2 separate regions of the Homo sapiens genome follow, and region 1 is linked to region 2. The links are contacts of gene promoters, found by promoter capture Hi-C in human tissues and cell types (Jung and others, 2019). All regions are on one chromosome and are shown on one strand. The core of a region is centred on a gene start or on the middle of the fragment in contact, and the rest is flanking DNA. Distances in the headings are between cores, read along the strand shown. Region 1 has its middle 79 kb from the start of CD38. Region 2 holds the start of FGFBP2 (fibroblast growth factor binding protein 2).

Evidence for each region. The method cuts DNA at HindIII sites, captures the fragments that hold promoters and counts their contacts. A contact is called where the count stands out against the background at its distance.
Region 1: a contact is called between a fragment that was not itself captured here and the fragment with the promoter of FGFBP2 in region 2, in 3 of the 25 tissues and cell types used here (H1 embryonic stem cells, mesenchymal stem cells and mesendoderm cells).

What each region holds. Positions count from the first base shown.
Region 1 is chr4:15,853,890-15,860,580 of GRCh38, reverse strand. No RefSeq gene overlaps it. Among named protein-coding and RNA genes, the nearest start is that of CD38, 79 kb to the right of the region's middle. The HindIII fragment of the contact is 4,017 bases long and covers 1-3,585 here.
Region 2 is chr4:15,958,568-15,965,370 of GRCh38, reverse strand. It overlaps FGFBP2 (fibroblast growth factor binding protein 2), which reads left to right and starts at 2,196. Exons shown (of 2, transcript NM_031950.4): 1 at 2,196-2,933; 2 at 4,760-5,126. The coding sequence starts at 2,242. The coding sequence ends at 2,913. RefSeq lists an enhancer at 1,325-2,166. The HindIII fragment of the contact is 18,537 bases long and covers 1-6,309 here.

The sequences.
Region 1 (6,691 bases), core at 328-2,827, 100 kb after region 2:
AAAATGTTTCTTAGCTTGTGCATATGTGGTTGATATAAAAATGTAATTTTTAAATTTATTGATACATAATATTTGTACACATTTATGAGATACATGTGATATTTTGTTATGTGCATTGAATGTATAATTATCAAGTCAGAGTTCTTAGGGTATCCATTGCCTCGAGTATTTATCATTTATATGTGTTGGGAACATTTCAAGTTCTCTCTTCTAGTTATTTTGAAAGATACAATACGTTGTTGTTACTTATAGCTACCCTACTCTGTTATGAAATATTAGAACTGATTCCTTCTATGTAACTGTATGTTTGTACCCATTCAGCAACCTCTCTTCATCCCCTCCACCACACACACACACACACACACACACACACACACACACACACACACCCTTAGCCTTTGGTCTCATTCTACTCTCCACCTCCATGACATCAACTTTTTAAGCTCCCATATATGAGGGAGAATATACAATATTTGTCTTTCTATGTCTGGCTTATCTCACTTAGCATGATGACCTCCAGTTTCATTCATGTTCTGAAAGTGACATGATTTCTTTCTTTTCCATGACCAAATAGTACTCCATTGTGTATATACACCACATTTTCTTCATCCATTTATTAATGGATAATTTGTTAATTCATATCTTTGCTATTGTGAACAGCACTACAATAAACATAGGGGTGCAAGTGTCTTTTGATATACTGATTTATTTTCCTTTGGATAAATATGCAGTTGTGGGATTGCCGGGTCATATGATAGTTCCATTTTTAGCTTTTTGAAAACTCTCCATACTGTTTTCTATAGTGACTGTACTAATTTACATTCCCACCAACAGTGTATAAGAGTTTCCTCTTCTCCACATCCTCATCAGCATCTGTTAATGTTTGTCTTTTTAATAATACCCATTCTGAGGTAAGATAATACCTCATTGTGGTTTTGATTTGCATTTTGATAATTAGTGATGAACATGTTTTCAAATACCTGTTGGCCATTTGTATGTATTTTTTTGAGAAATGTCTCTTCCTGTCCTTTACCCACTTTTAAATGGGATTAATTGTGGGTTGGTTTGTTTGTTTACTGTTGAGTTGTGAGTGCCTCGTATATTCTGAATATTAGTCCCTTGTCAGATGAATAGTTCACAAGTATTTTCTCCCATTTGACAGGTTGTCTCTTTACTCTGTTGATTATTTTCTGTGCTGAAGCTTTGTATTCTAATATAGTCCCGTTTGTCCATTTTTGCTTTTGTTGCCTATGCTTTTGAGGTCTTAGCCATAAAATCTTTGCCTAGATCAATGTCTTGAAGTGTTTTCCCTATGTTTTCTTCAAGTAGTTTTATAGCTTAGGGTTTTGTGTTTAAGTATTAATGCATCTTGAGTGGATTTTTTGTATATGATGAGAGATGGAAGTACAGTTTTATTTTTCTGCATATGAATGTCCAATTTTCCCAGCACCATTTATGGAAGAGGGTGTCCTTTCTCCAATGTATGTTCTTGGAGCTTTTGGTGAAAATCAGTTGGCTATAAATATGTGTATTACTTTCTGGGTTATCTATTCTGTTCTATTGGTCTATGTGTTGGTTTTTTGTTTCTGTTTTTGTTTTTGAGAGAGAGTCTTGCTCTGTCACCAGGCTGGAGTGCAGTGGTGCCGTCTCGGCTCACTGCAACCTCTGCCTCTCAGGTTTGAGTGATTCTCCTGCCTCAGCCTCCCAAGTAGCTGGGACTACAGGCCTGCACTGCCACACCCAGCTAATTTTTGTATGTTTAGTAGAGATGGGGTTTCACCATGTTGGCAAGGATGGTCTTGATATCTTCACCTCATGATCCACCTACCTCGGCCTCCCAAAGTGATGGGATTACAGGCGTGAGCCATACCACCATGTTGTTTTGGTTACTATAAGCCTTGTAATATATTTTGAAGTGAAGTAGTGTGATGCCTCCAGCTTTGTTCTTTTTGCTCAGGATTGCTTTGGCTATTTAGTTCTCTTTTTTTGTTCCATATGAATTTTAGGATTGTTTTTCTATGAAAAATATGATTTATATGAAAAGTGTACAATATATACATAAGATGTTATCAGTGGTAACCACTGGTAACCTGGGTGGTAAGATTATCAATGAGTAGAAAGTATAGCACTGATATATTTCAATGATTTTGTCTTTATTTTTTATTATCTGTATTGCTTACATCAAAGAAATGGTAACTTGGTTAAAAATAAAAACATTTTAAAGGAAAACTCTCAATCTCCCCTGTTTGGGGAAGCTTTCATCATCCCTCTCACATCACCCCAAATTGTACTTTGTGCTCATGGGGCATGTTTGTGTCATTGACAGTCCTAACCATCTCATTCTCAGTCCTCCTAAAAGACCAGAGTTTTCCAGACAACACAGTGGGCAGCTGGAAAGGGGTATGGGGGAAATGACTTTTACCAAGTTCAGGCTGAAGTAGAGATTCCCCCTTGAATACACAGGGAGTGGGCCATCTGCTCCACGGCAGTAGCCCATGCCTGTTTCTGTCAATACTCTGTCACCAGCACCTTGCACCTAGAAAAGGATCAGCTAATACTGGTGATCAAATAATCAGTAGGTCAATTATTTAATAGTGAGGCTAAAGTGGCCAGCAAAGCCAAGTCTGGACAAAGAAACTGAGCTACAGCGGTGAGGATTAAAGAAGGCATTATGGAGACAAAAGCCCTGAGAGCAAATACTGACTGAGTTTCTGCTCTGTGTCTGGGATTGAGGATAAAGCAATGAAGAAAAAGACCAGGTCTAGCCATCATGGAAATGAGATTCTGGGTGAAACTAGATCAGAGGAAGAGAGGAAGAGAGAAGTATCTTTTTCTAGAGTTTGGTACCCTCTGCTTATGGCTTCCATTTTCTAAGTCCAAGGCTGCTGCTGAAATTTCATTGTTTTTCAGCAAAGTAAAGGAGATAAAAGTGAAAATTTAGTCCATTGATGATAGACTGGATCAAGAAAATGTGGCACATATACACCATGGAATACTGTGCAGCCATAAAAAAGGACGAGTTCATGTCCTTTGTAGGGACATGGATGAAGCTGGAAACCATCATTCTGAGCAAACTATCACAAGGACAGAAAACCAAAAACCACATGTTCTCACTTATAGGTGGGAATCGAACAATGAGAACACATGGACACAGGGTGGGGAACATCACACAATGGGGCCTGTCGTGGGGTCGGGGGAGGGAGGGAGGGAGGGATAGCATTAGGAGAAATACCTAATGTAAATGACGAGTTAATGGGTGCAGCATATCAACATGGCACATGTATACATATGTAACAAACCTGCACGTTACGCACATGTACCCTAGAACTTAAAGTATAATTTAAAAAAATGAAAATTTAGAGCAAGTGGCTGTTTCTAAGGTGACTAGGCAATTGCATTAATCATCTCCATTCATACCCTATTGGCCAGAGCCAGCTGCAGAGCTGGGATCTGTTCTCTAGCCGTGAAGTCATGCCCTGATTAAAAATGGCAGATGGGGAAATACTGTTTATTTTTTTTAAAAAAAGAAGAAAAGAACACATACTAGGCAACAGTTAGCAATCTCCACCACACCTGTTTGTGGATTCTTAGGCTTTTTGATAGGAAAGAAAGACATGGAAGGAGAAAACCTTGACTCCTAAACTATTGCTCACAACTCCACACACCTTCCACAACCCCAGAAGGACTTAGTATCTTCACTTGTCAAGTAAAGGAGATGAGCCACTGATGTGCCATCATTGTGTTCCATGGTTCTTTCATGATTCTGTAATAAATTATTACAGAAATGTCTATTTTGTTACTTTTACTGTGGAAGTATTTGACATGTTCATGGTAATGAGTGACACTTAGAAAACAACAGGCCGGGCGCAGTGGCTCACGCCTGTAATCCCAGTATTTTGGGAGGCCGAGGGGGGCGGATCACAAGGTCAGGAGATGGAGACCATCCTGGCCAACATGGTGAAACCTTGTCTCTACTAAAAATACAAAAATTAGCTGGACATGGTGGTGCGTGCCTGTAGTCCTAGCTACTCAGGAGGCTGAGGCAGGAGAATCGCTGGAACCTGGGAGGCGGAGGTTGCAGTGAGCCGAGATCACGCCACTGCCCTCCAGCCTGGCTACAGAGTGAGACTCCGTCTCAAAACAAAAACAAAAACAAAAAAATACATTTTAAAAATAATCCCATCTGATAGCACAGAGTCACCCGTGTTCTAAAAGGCTGACAGCAGGAAGGACACCTGATGAGATCCCAGCTTGCTTCCTTCCTCTCACATCACCAGGCCAAACAAGCTGTGCCTGGAGAAGCTCATGACTTCTGTGGCCCAGCGCCAAAGTCATCAAATTCTGAGCGTCTAAGAAGAATCTGGGACTTAGCAGCAGCTCCCACAGGGCATCTTTCCCTCCAACTTGTATCTGATTATTCTACCAGTGCAGGAAAATTCCCTGGAAGGCAAGGCTGGGAAAACTGAACCAATTATTAAATATTATTCACAACGGGAGATTTGTTCTTGTGCAGAAGGTCAGAGATAGCTGTCCCATTTCTTCTTAGCTCTCCTGCTTTCTCAATGTTCTTTCAGCTCACTGATTCCACAGGGAGAAGATTTCTACTCCCAGCACATCTTGTCTTCTGGCTTCGTTGCACCAAGGAAGGCTGCGTGCCTTAACCATCATCAGAGCAGTAAGTACCTGGTCAGGAGAGCAGGGGCTTGAACTGGCAATGCTAAGGGAGGCTGTTGAACTCTTGATCAGCTTGAAGGATGAAATTTATACATTTGAACTTCTTAGATTTGGGAGCAGTGGAGTCTATTGCTGCATTTTTGTCAACCTCCAGCTTGGGATGGGCCAGCTCTTAGTGAAAGGTATCTGGCCCATTTCTCTCTTAGGTGGGAAAGTTCTAATCATCTAGAATGATTCAAAGCTTGTGAGAGACTATAGCTGATCCTGTTGGTTGGCAAGAGAGCCATTCTCTACCCTCTTCTCCATTGTCCCCTAGGTCTCAGGGTCTCAGCATCTAAACTAGGTAGGCTTGTCAAGGAATTTCCTCCGGAATAAAAACAGTCTCAAAAATAAAATAAAATAAAAATAAAAAAATAAAAATCCTAACATTGATACAGTTCTTCATATGTATTAAGCATTATCCTAAAAATTTTGCACATATCACCTTACTTAATGCTCAAAACAACCCAAAATGATAGACACTCTTATCACTCCCATTTTACAGACAGAGAAACTGAGCTCTGTCCTAAGCATTTTACCTGTATCAGGCCCTACACACTGAATGTATCTGTGCAACCGTGAATCTGTGGCTGGTGAGGAAGGAAAGCAGGTGCCATGCACCATCCACCATTCTCTTTCATTACTTCTGTTCCCAGAAATAGCCATGTCTGTGTTCTGGCAGTGATAGAGCGACAGCCAAGTGTCCATAGGGCAAGCGGCAACTTTTCTACCTGACAAGCCAGTAGAGTAATCTGGAGTGTTGTTCTTGGCTAAGTGGCTTCCAAACTATTTTCTCGCCCTCCCAGACAATCTATAAGCTCTTGATAGTTTTTAGAAAATTCACTTTCAGCCTGTGATGGTTGAGTGTCAACTTGATTGGACTGAAGGATGCAAAGTATTGTTCCTGGGTGTGTTTGTGAGGGTGTTGCCAAGGGAGATTAACATTTGAGTCAGTGGACTCGGAGAGGCAGACCCACAGTCAATCTAGGTGAGCACCATCTAATCAGCTATCAGTGCAGCTAGGATAAAAGCAGGCAGAAGAACGTGGGAGGACTAGACTGGCTGAGTCTTCTGGCTTCCATCTTTCTCCCATGATGGATGCTTCCTGCTCCCGAACATCGGATTCCAAGTTCTTCAGCTTTTGGACTCATGGACTTACACCAGTGGATTGTCAGGGGCTCTCAGGCCTTTGGCCACAGACTGAAGGCTGCACTGCTGGCTTCCCTACTTTTGAGATTTTGGGACTCGGACTGGTTTCCTTGCTCCTCAGCTTGCAGACGGCCTATTGTGGGACTTCACCTTGTGATCATGCAAGTCAATACACCTTAATAAACTCCCTTTCATATATCTATCTGTCTTTAGCTCTGTCCCTCTAGAGAACCCTAATACACAGCCAGAGTGGTGTTCTGTTGTTGCAGCTGAGAGCACAGGCTGATACAATGTGTGAAGTACCTTGTACAATAAACATTGGTTTTCTCTTTTCTGCAGGCTGGCATTTTGCATCAAGTTTTTTTGTTTTTTGTTTTGTTTGTTTGTTTGTTTTGAGACAGCAACTAAATTTCTATTGTCCAGGCTGGAGTGCAGTGGCACAATCTCAGCTCACTGTAGCCTTGATCTCCTGGGCTCAAGCAATCCTCTCACCTCAGCCTCTCAAGTAGTTGGGACTACAGGAACATGCCACCATGCCTGGTTAATTTTTGTTTAGTTTTTTTCAGAGATGAGATCTCATTATGTTGCCCAGGCTGGTCTCGAACTCCTGGGCTCAAGCAATCCTCCGTTCTCGACCTCCCAAAATGTTGGGATTACAGGCACGAGCCACCCTGCCAGGTCTTTTGCATCAAGTCTTTAAGTGTTGTTTCATGTTTATGTCACTTATTAAGAATCACACACAAGATCGTCCTTTGCAGGGACATGGATAGGGCTGAAGGCTGTTATCCTTAACAAACTAATGCAGGAACAGAAAACCAAATACCTCATG
Region 2 (6,803 bases), core at 947-3,446:
GAGCTGAACACCTGCCTTCCTGTGGCCACGACATGGAGCCTGGGTTGGAGTGCTGTTTACTCCAGGGGCTCCTGAGTTGGAAGCACACAAAGGGCAAGCCTCTGTCTTAGAACTGGCCCTGTGGATTGGTACGGGGGCTGCGGACCCCACCCTAAGTCACCTCTCCAGCCTGATTCTCACCACTGCCTCCTTGCCCTTGACATTTCAGCAGTCCATAAACCTGCACTCCAGGATCACTCCTTTACAGGAAGCATTATCCTGCCTTAAGAATCTGCCCTTGGCCAGGCGCAGTGGCTCGTGCCTGTAATCTCAGCACTTAGGGAGGCTGAAGTGGGCGGATCACTTGTTAGGAGTTTGAGGCCAGCCTGGCCAACGTCGTGAAACCCCATCTCTACTAAAAACACAAAAATTAGCCTGGCATGGTGGTAGGCGCCTGTAATCCCAACTACTCAGGTGGCTGAGGCAGGACAATTGCTTGAACCTGGGAGGTGGAGGTTGCAGTGAGCCAAGATTGTGCCACTGCACTCCAGCCTGGGTGGCAAAGTAAGACTGTGTGAAAAAAAAAAAAAACCTACCTTTAGCTGGTTGTGGTGGTTCACATCTGTAATTCCAGTGACTCCAGAGGACAAGGAAGCAGGAGGATTGCTTGAGGCCTGGAGTGTGAGATCGGCCTGGACAACAGAGTGAGACCCTGTCCCTAAAAATTTTAAATTTAAAATTTAGCTGGGTGTGGCAGCCCATGCCTGTAGTCCCAGTTACTTGAGAGGCTGAGGCAGGAGAAGTAATTGAGCCCAGGAGTTGGAGGCTACAGTGAGCTATAATTACACCAGTGCAATCCGGTCTAGGTGACAGAATGAGGCCAAAACAAACAAACAAACAAACAAACAAAAAAAACACCTGCCCTTTACCCTTTCTCAACCTGACAAATTGACTGACTTGTCTTGAAGGTTTGGCACCACTTCTTGGAAGCTTCCTCTGCTCCCCACCTGGGGTGATGCCCTCTTCTGGAAGGCTCTCACTGCTACACACACAGTGGCTGCCGAAGCTCAGCCTGGCTTTAGTTCCAGCCCTACTAGGTCTTCTCAGGACTCAGGATATCCAGGTGGAAGGAAGGCTGTGCCAGGTACCAACTACCCTACGTGGGATCGCCAAGATAAATCCCTCACATTCAAACTAGTCCCCCAACATCCGTCAACCCTATTCCTAACAGCAAATTGCCACCTTTAGTCCACTCCACAGTGCCCTCTGGAAGGGTCATCAAAAGACAGTTATGACCATACCAAACTATGATTCTTGACACAGAATCAAAAGTTATTTTCAATTTATTTTTTTTCTATTGTAGAACAATAATAATAATATTTAAAATCATATTTTCCTGTGATATAATTAAAACTGTGTTATTTCAATTGAATTTGAAATAGAATTCATGGTCTAAAATAGACTGAATCCCACTGTGAACATATATTTGCATGCCTTCCTCGTCATCATTCAGTTGGTGCAATTGTAAGGCATGCAATAACAAGGGAAGTGAACATTGCAGCACTGTGGCCTGTGGCCACGGTGATGGCGGGACAGCCCCACAGAGGCCACACCAGGTGACTCTCAGCTCGGTGGGTGGGAGGGGGAGTGTCTCTGTGTCCCTCTGGCACACACATCCTCACACAACCTCACATAGTCTTTTTTGCATTTGCTAGGCCATCTCATAACACTTAGGCTCATAAAATTCTGGCTTCCTTTGGATTAACTAAACCCATGGTCCCCCAAGATGGGGATTCCAGGGAGCAGGAGGGAGCCTCGAGGCAGCCCAGACTCCCAGCTGCAAACCTCACTTTCCAGAATACCACTGCCACACCTTGGCATATACCAAATGTTGACAAAGAAGGCTGTTCCCGTACAAGGGCCAATTTTAGAGCAAGCACCCTGTGGTTGGAAAACTGTAAAACCCTCAGCCCCAAAGCTGTGTGTGGCGCTTTGTGCGTGACAGGGCTGGGGCAGATCTCTCTGAGGCACTCAGGAAAACCATTCCCTTTGCTTGTGGTGGGCGGCCCCTGGTGGCTGCTCTGCCCTTGCCAAGTGTTACGTGTCTAAGGTCTGTGGGCATGTTTCTCATTTGCTGCAAAACATCCTCCCCACCCTTGCAGAGAAAGAGTCTTTTGTGCAGCACCCTTTAAAGGGTGACTCGTCCCACTTGTGTTCTCTCTCCTGGTGCAGAGTTGCAAGCAAGTTTATCGGAGTATCGCCATGAAGTTCGTCCCCTGCCTCCTGCTGGTGACCTTGTCCTGCCTGGGGACTTTGGGTCAGGCCCCGAGGCAAAAGCAAGGAAGCACTGGGGAGGAATTCCATTTCCAGACTGGAGGGAGAGATTCCTGCACTATGCGTCCCAGCAGCTTGGGGCAAGGTGCTGGAGAAGTCTGGCTTCGTGTCGACTGCCGCAACACAGACCAGACCTACTGGTGTGAGTACAGGGGGCAGCCCAGCATGTGCCAGGCTTTCGCTGCTGACCCCAAACCTTACTGGAATCAAGCCCTGCAGGAGCTGAGGCGCCTTCACCATGCGTGCCAGGGGGCCCCGGTGCTTAGGCCATCCGTGTGCAGGGAGGCTGGACCCCAGGCCCATATGCAGCAGGTGACTTCCAGCCTCAAGGGCAGCCCAGAGCCCAACCAGCAGCCTGAGGCTGGGACGCCATCTCTGAGGCCCAAGGCCACAGTGAAACTCACAGAAGCAACACAGCTGGGAAAGGACTCGATGGAAGAGCTGGGAAAAGCCAAACCCACCACCCGACCCACAGCCAAACCTACCCAGCCTGGACCCAGGCCCGGAGGGAATGAGGAAGCAAAGAAGAAGGCCTGGGAACATTGTTGGAAACCCTTCCAGGCCCTGTGCGCCTTTCTCATCAGCTTCTTCCGAGGGTGACAGGTGAAAGACCCCTACAGGTAATACCCTTTCCTTTACTCATATACAGAGACTACGTGTATATACTTATATACAGAGACTACGTGAGAGGCACTTAGCACTTTCACAGCTGCTGCGACCACATCAGAGTCTCAGCGTGTGTTTGGGGGTGGGTTTGAGGCTGTCTGTTGCAGAGCAGTGTAGATGAGGTAGTTCATCCGGAGTGGCACTTGACCCTGGAGTTGCATAGGAATCACCTACAAGGAGCTCTAAAAATGCTGATGCCCAGGCCCCTCGCCAGACCGTTCCATCTATGTCTCCAACATAGTAGCGCAGGAATGTGGACTTTTAAAACTCTCCCCCAAGTGATTTGAATGTGCAGCCAAGGTTGAGAATCTCCTTGTGATGGAACCACCTCACTGTTAGACCGAGGCCTTTGGAATTCTGCCGGGTAACGTTTCCTAATGAACCAAGCATTTGCTGCAGCTGTTAGTGGCCGAGGTGCTATGTCATGGTGGAGGTGTCGCCACACCCCGTCTTGTTCTCAGTTTTTTCTCCTACAGTCAAGTTAGGGTGGGGAGTGTTGTGCACTGAGGAAAGTTTGAGTCAAATAGTCTTTAAAGTCTTTCTCACAGCTCTCAAAGCCTTTAATTGTTTTTTGTTCATCACAGAGGAGAAAATCTAATTAATAATAACAGATTTAATCAACTCCAAGTATTGCTTTTAAAAGACCAAACTTTTTCTTGTGGAAATAAGGCTTATTACTGATCTCTATCCTTAAATGTAGCAGCTTTCATTAATTTTGCACACCAGTAAGGAGTTCATTTACATGGGATTCTAGTCTTACTTGTGCACTTTGAGTTTAAAAGGAGAGTTTCTGAGTTTTTTTCATATTATCTATGTAAGAAAAATAGGAACAAAGCAGATTTCCTGATAAACAGCACTTTGATAACGAATACCACCAAACAAATAAGGCTTTTTCTACAAGCGCCCAGGCAGCAAGAAATGTTGGTTCACAACAAAGTTGTTTTGGTGTCTGCTGTTCTGGGCTGGAGGTTTTCTGCTTGTTTAAGATTTCAGATCTGTCCCAGAGGAGAAAAGGGGACACTTAAGCCAAAAAAAGTTACTATTGAGAGGAGGTCCTTTTTTTTTTCTTTTTAAAGTGATTTTTTTGGTCTTTCTACAAATAAGACATACAAATCATTTGAAAAATTCAAACACAACAGAAAAATACAAAGAATTTTAAAACTTCATCCATAATCCCACCACACAGAGATAAACAATGTTAACAGAAGAGTACCCATTTAGACATCCATCCATGCGTATTTACACAGACAGATGTACAGCGTATATACAGATGCATACAGGCGCTAAAGCTCAAAACAATATCTTGATCCTGCAGATAAGCTGCATAGGACTACTGTATTAGCTTGCTGGGGCTGCCATAGCAAAATACCACAGAATGGGTGGCTTAAACAGCAGAAATATATTTTCTCACAATTCTGGAGACTGAAATTCCAAGATCAAGGTGTCAGCAGGATTGGTGTCTTCTGAGGACTCTCTCCTTGACTCATAGATGGCAGCCTTCTCTCTGTCATTCCTCTGCGTGGGTCTGTGTCCTCATCTCTTTTTGTTAGGATACCATTCACACTGGATGAAGTCCCACCCAAACAGCCCCATTTTACCTTAACCACCTCTTTAATGGCCCCTATCTTTAAATACAAACGCTCCCTGAGGTACTGGAGGTTAGGACTTAAGTCTACGGTTTTTAGGTTTTGGGAGGGACACAATTCACACAATTCAACCCATAACAACAAAGAAAGAATTTTTCATCCCTTCCTTTTTTTTTCTTTTTTTTTTTTTTTAGATCTGACCTCTCCCTGACAGACAACCATCTCTTTTTATATTATGCCGCTTTCAATCCAACGTTCTCACACTGGAAGAAGAGAGTTTCTAATCAGATGCAACGGCCCAAATTCTTGATCTGCAGCTTCTCTGAAGTTTGGAAAAGAAACCTTCCTTTCTGGAGTTTGCAGAGTTCAGCAATATGATAGGGAACAGGTGCTGATGGGCCCAAGAGTGACAAGCATACACAACTACTTATTATCTGTAGAAGTTTTGCTTTGTTGATCTGAGCCTTCTATGAAAGTTTAAATATGTAACGCATTCATGAATTTCCAGTGTTCAGTAAATAGCAGCTATGTGTGTGCAAAATAAAAGAATGATTTCAGAAATACGACTTTAGTCTTCTTAATGAACGTGATACCTAGATGCTATAGGGATCATGTATACCCATGAAGTCACTATTATTTTATTCAGGGTGCCATCGTGCATTACACAGACTAGGTGGCTTAAAGCAACAGAAATGTGTTCTCTCACAGTGATGGAGGCAAGAAGTGCCTCAAGATGTCACCAAAGTTAGTTTCTCCTGGAGGGTCTCAGGGAAAATCTGTTCAATGCCTCTCTGTCAGTTTCTTAAAGTTGCTGGAATCCTTGACATTCCTTGGCTTATAGACATATCACTCTAATCCCTGCCTCTGTCTTCACATGGAATTTTCCCTTGCGTGTGTGTCAAATTTCCCTCTCCTGATAAGGGCACCAGCCATTGGATTAGGGTCCATCCTAATCAAGAAAGACCTTATCTTAACTCCATCATGTCTGCAAACACCCTATTCCCAAATAAGATCATATTCACAGATTCCAAATGGACATAAATTTTTGGTGGGCACTATTCAACCCAGCACAGCCACCATGCAGCAATAGCAACTAGCCAAAAAGATAGAGAAGTGAACCTGAAAAAGAACAACCCTGTACACTCAGCAATTAAATTAATCAACAGAGTTGGAAAGGAAGAAAATTAGATTTTATTAGACATACGCGAAAAGTGACTCACTTCTTAATTTCGTATTTGTCTTACCTAAGAACACATTAATAGTCTACTCTCTCTCTTTTTTTTCTAATGGCTATTTATTTATTCGAGATGGGTCTCGCTCTGTCACCCAGGCTGGAGTGCAGTGGTGCAATCTCGGCTCACTGCAACCTCCGCCTCCTGGGTTCAAGCGATTCTCCTGCCTTAGCCTCCCGAGTAGCCGGGATTACAGGCATGTGCCACCATGCCCAGCTAATTTTTGTATTTTTAGTAGAGACAAGGTTTCACCATGTTGGCCAGGCTGGTCTTGAACTCCTGACCTCAGGTGATCCGCCCGCCTCGGCCTCCCAAAGTGCTGGGATTACAGGCGTGAGCCACTGTACCTGGCCCACTAGTCCACTCTTGATGTACTTAAATTGTTTCCCCAACTAGCCCAGCAGTGCCCAACCCTAGCTACATAATGGAGTCACCTGGGGCAACTTTTCAAAAACACTGGTGCTTGGACGTCAGCACCAGAGGTTACGGTGTAACTGGCCAGGGATGGGGCCTGAGCATGTGCAATTTTACATTTCCCCTGGTGACTCTAATATGCAGCCAAGTTTGAGAAACACCGCCCTTAATTAATTGAATTAGAATCTCTGGGGTGTATCCTAAGTAATTTCCAGGCAATTCTATGTGTAACCTGAGTTGAAGACTACTAATATGGCCTCTATATGTAGTTCACACAATTAAGAAATATTTATTCATCATCAACTATGTCCCAGGCACTGTGCAACACATTGGCTAGGGGAGACATGAACTAACCAACTAGGTTTCACATCTTAGAAGTGCAGTGAAGTAGTGGAAACCAAGACAACACATTGATGAGTGTTGGAGATGACACAGAAGGCGGTGGGTGGGGGCAGCCAGGGGACGTTTGCTGGGGTTGAGTTTCTAAAATATATATACATCAAGCATCTACTGTGACATACCAAGTCTATTTCTTATAAGGGCTCTGAGCCTTTCACTCACCCCCTCATATAGCTCTCACTACATCCCTAGG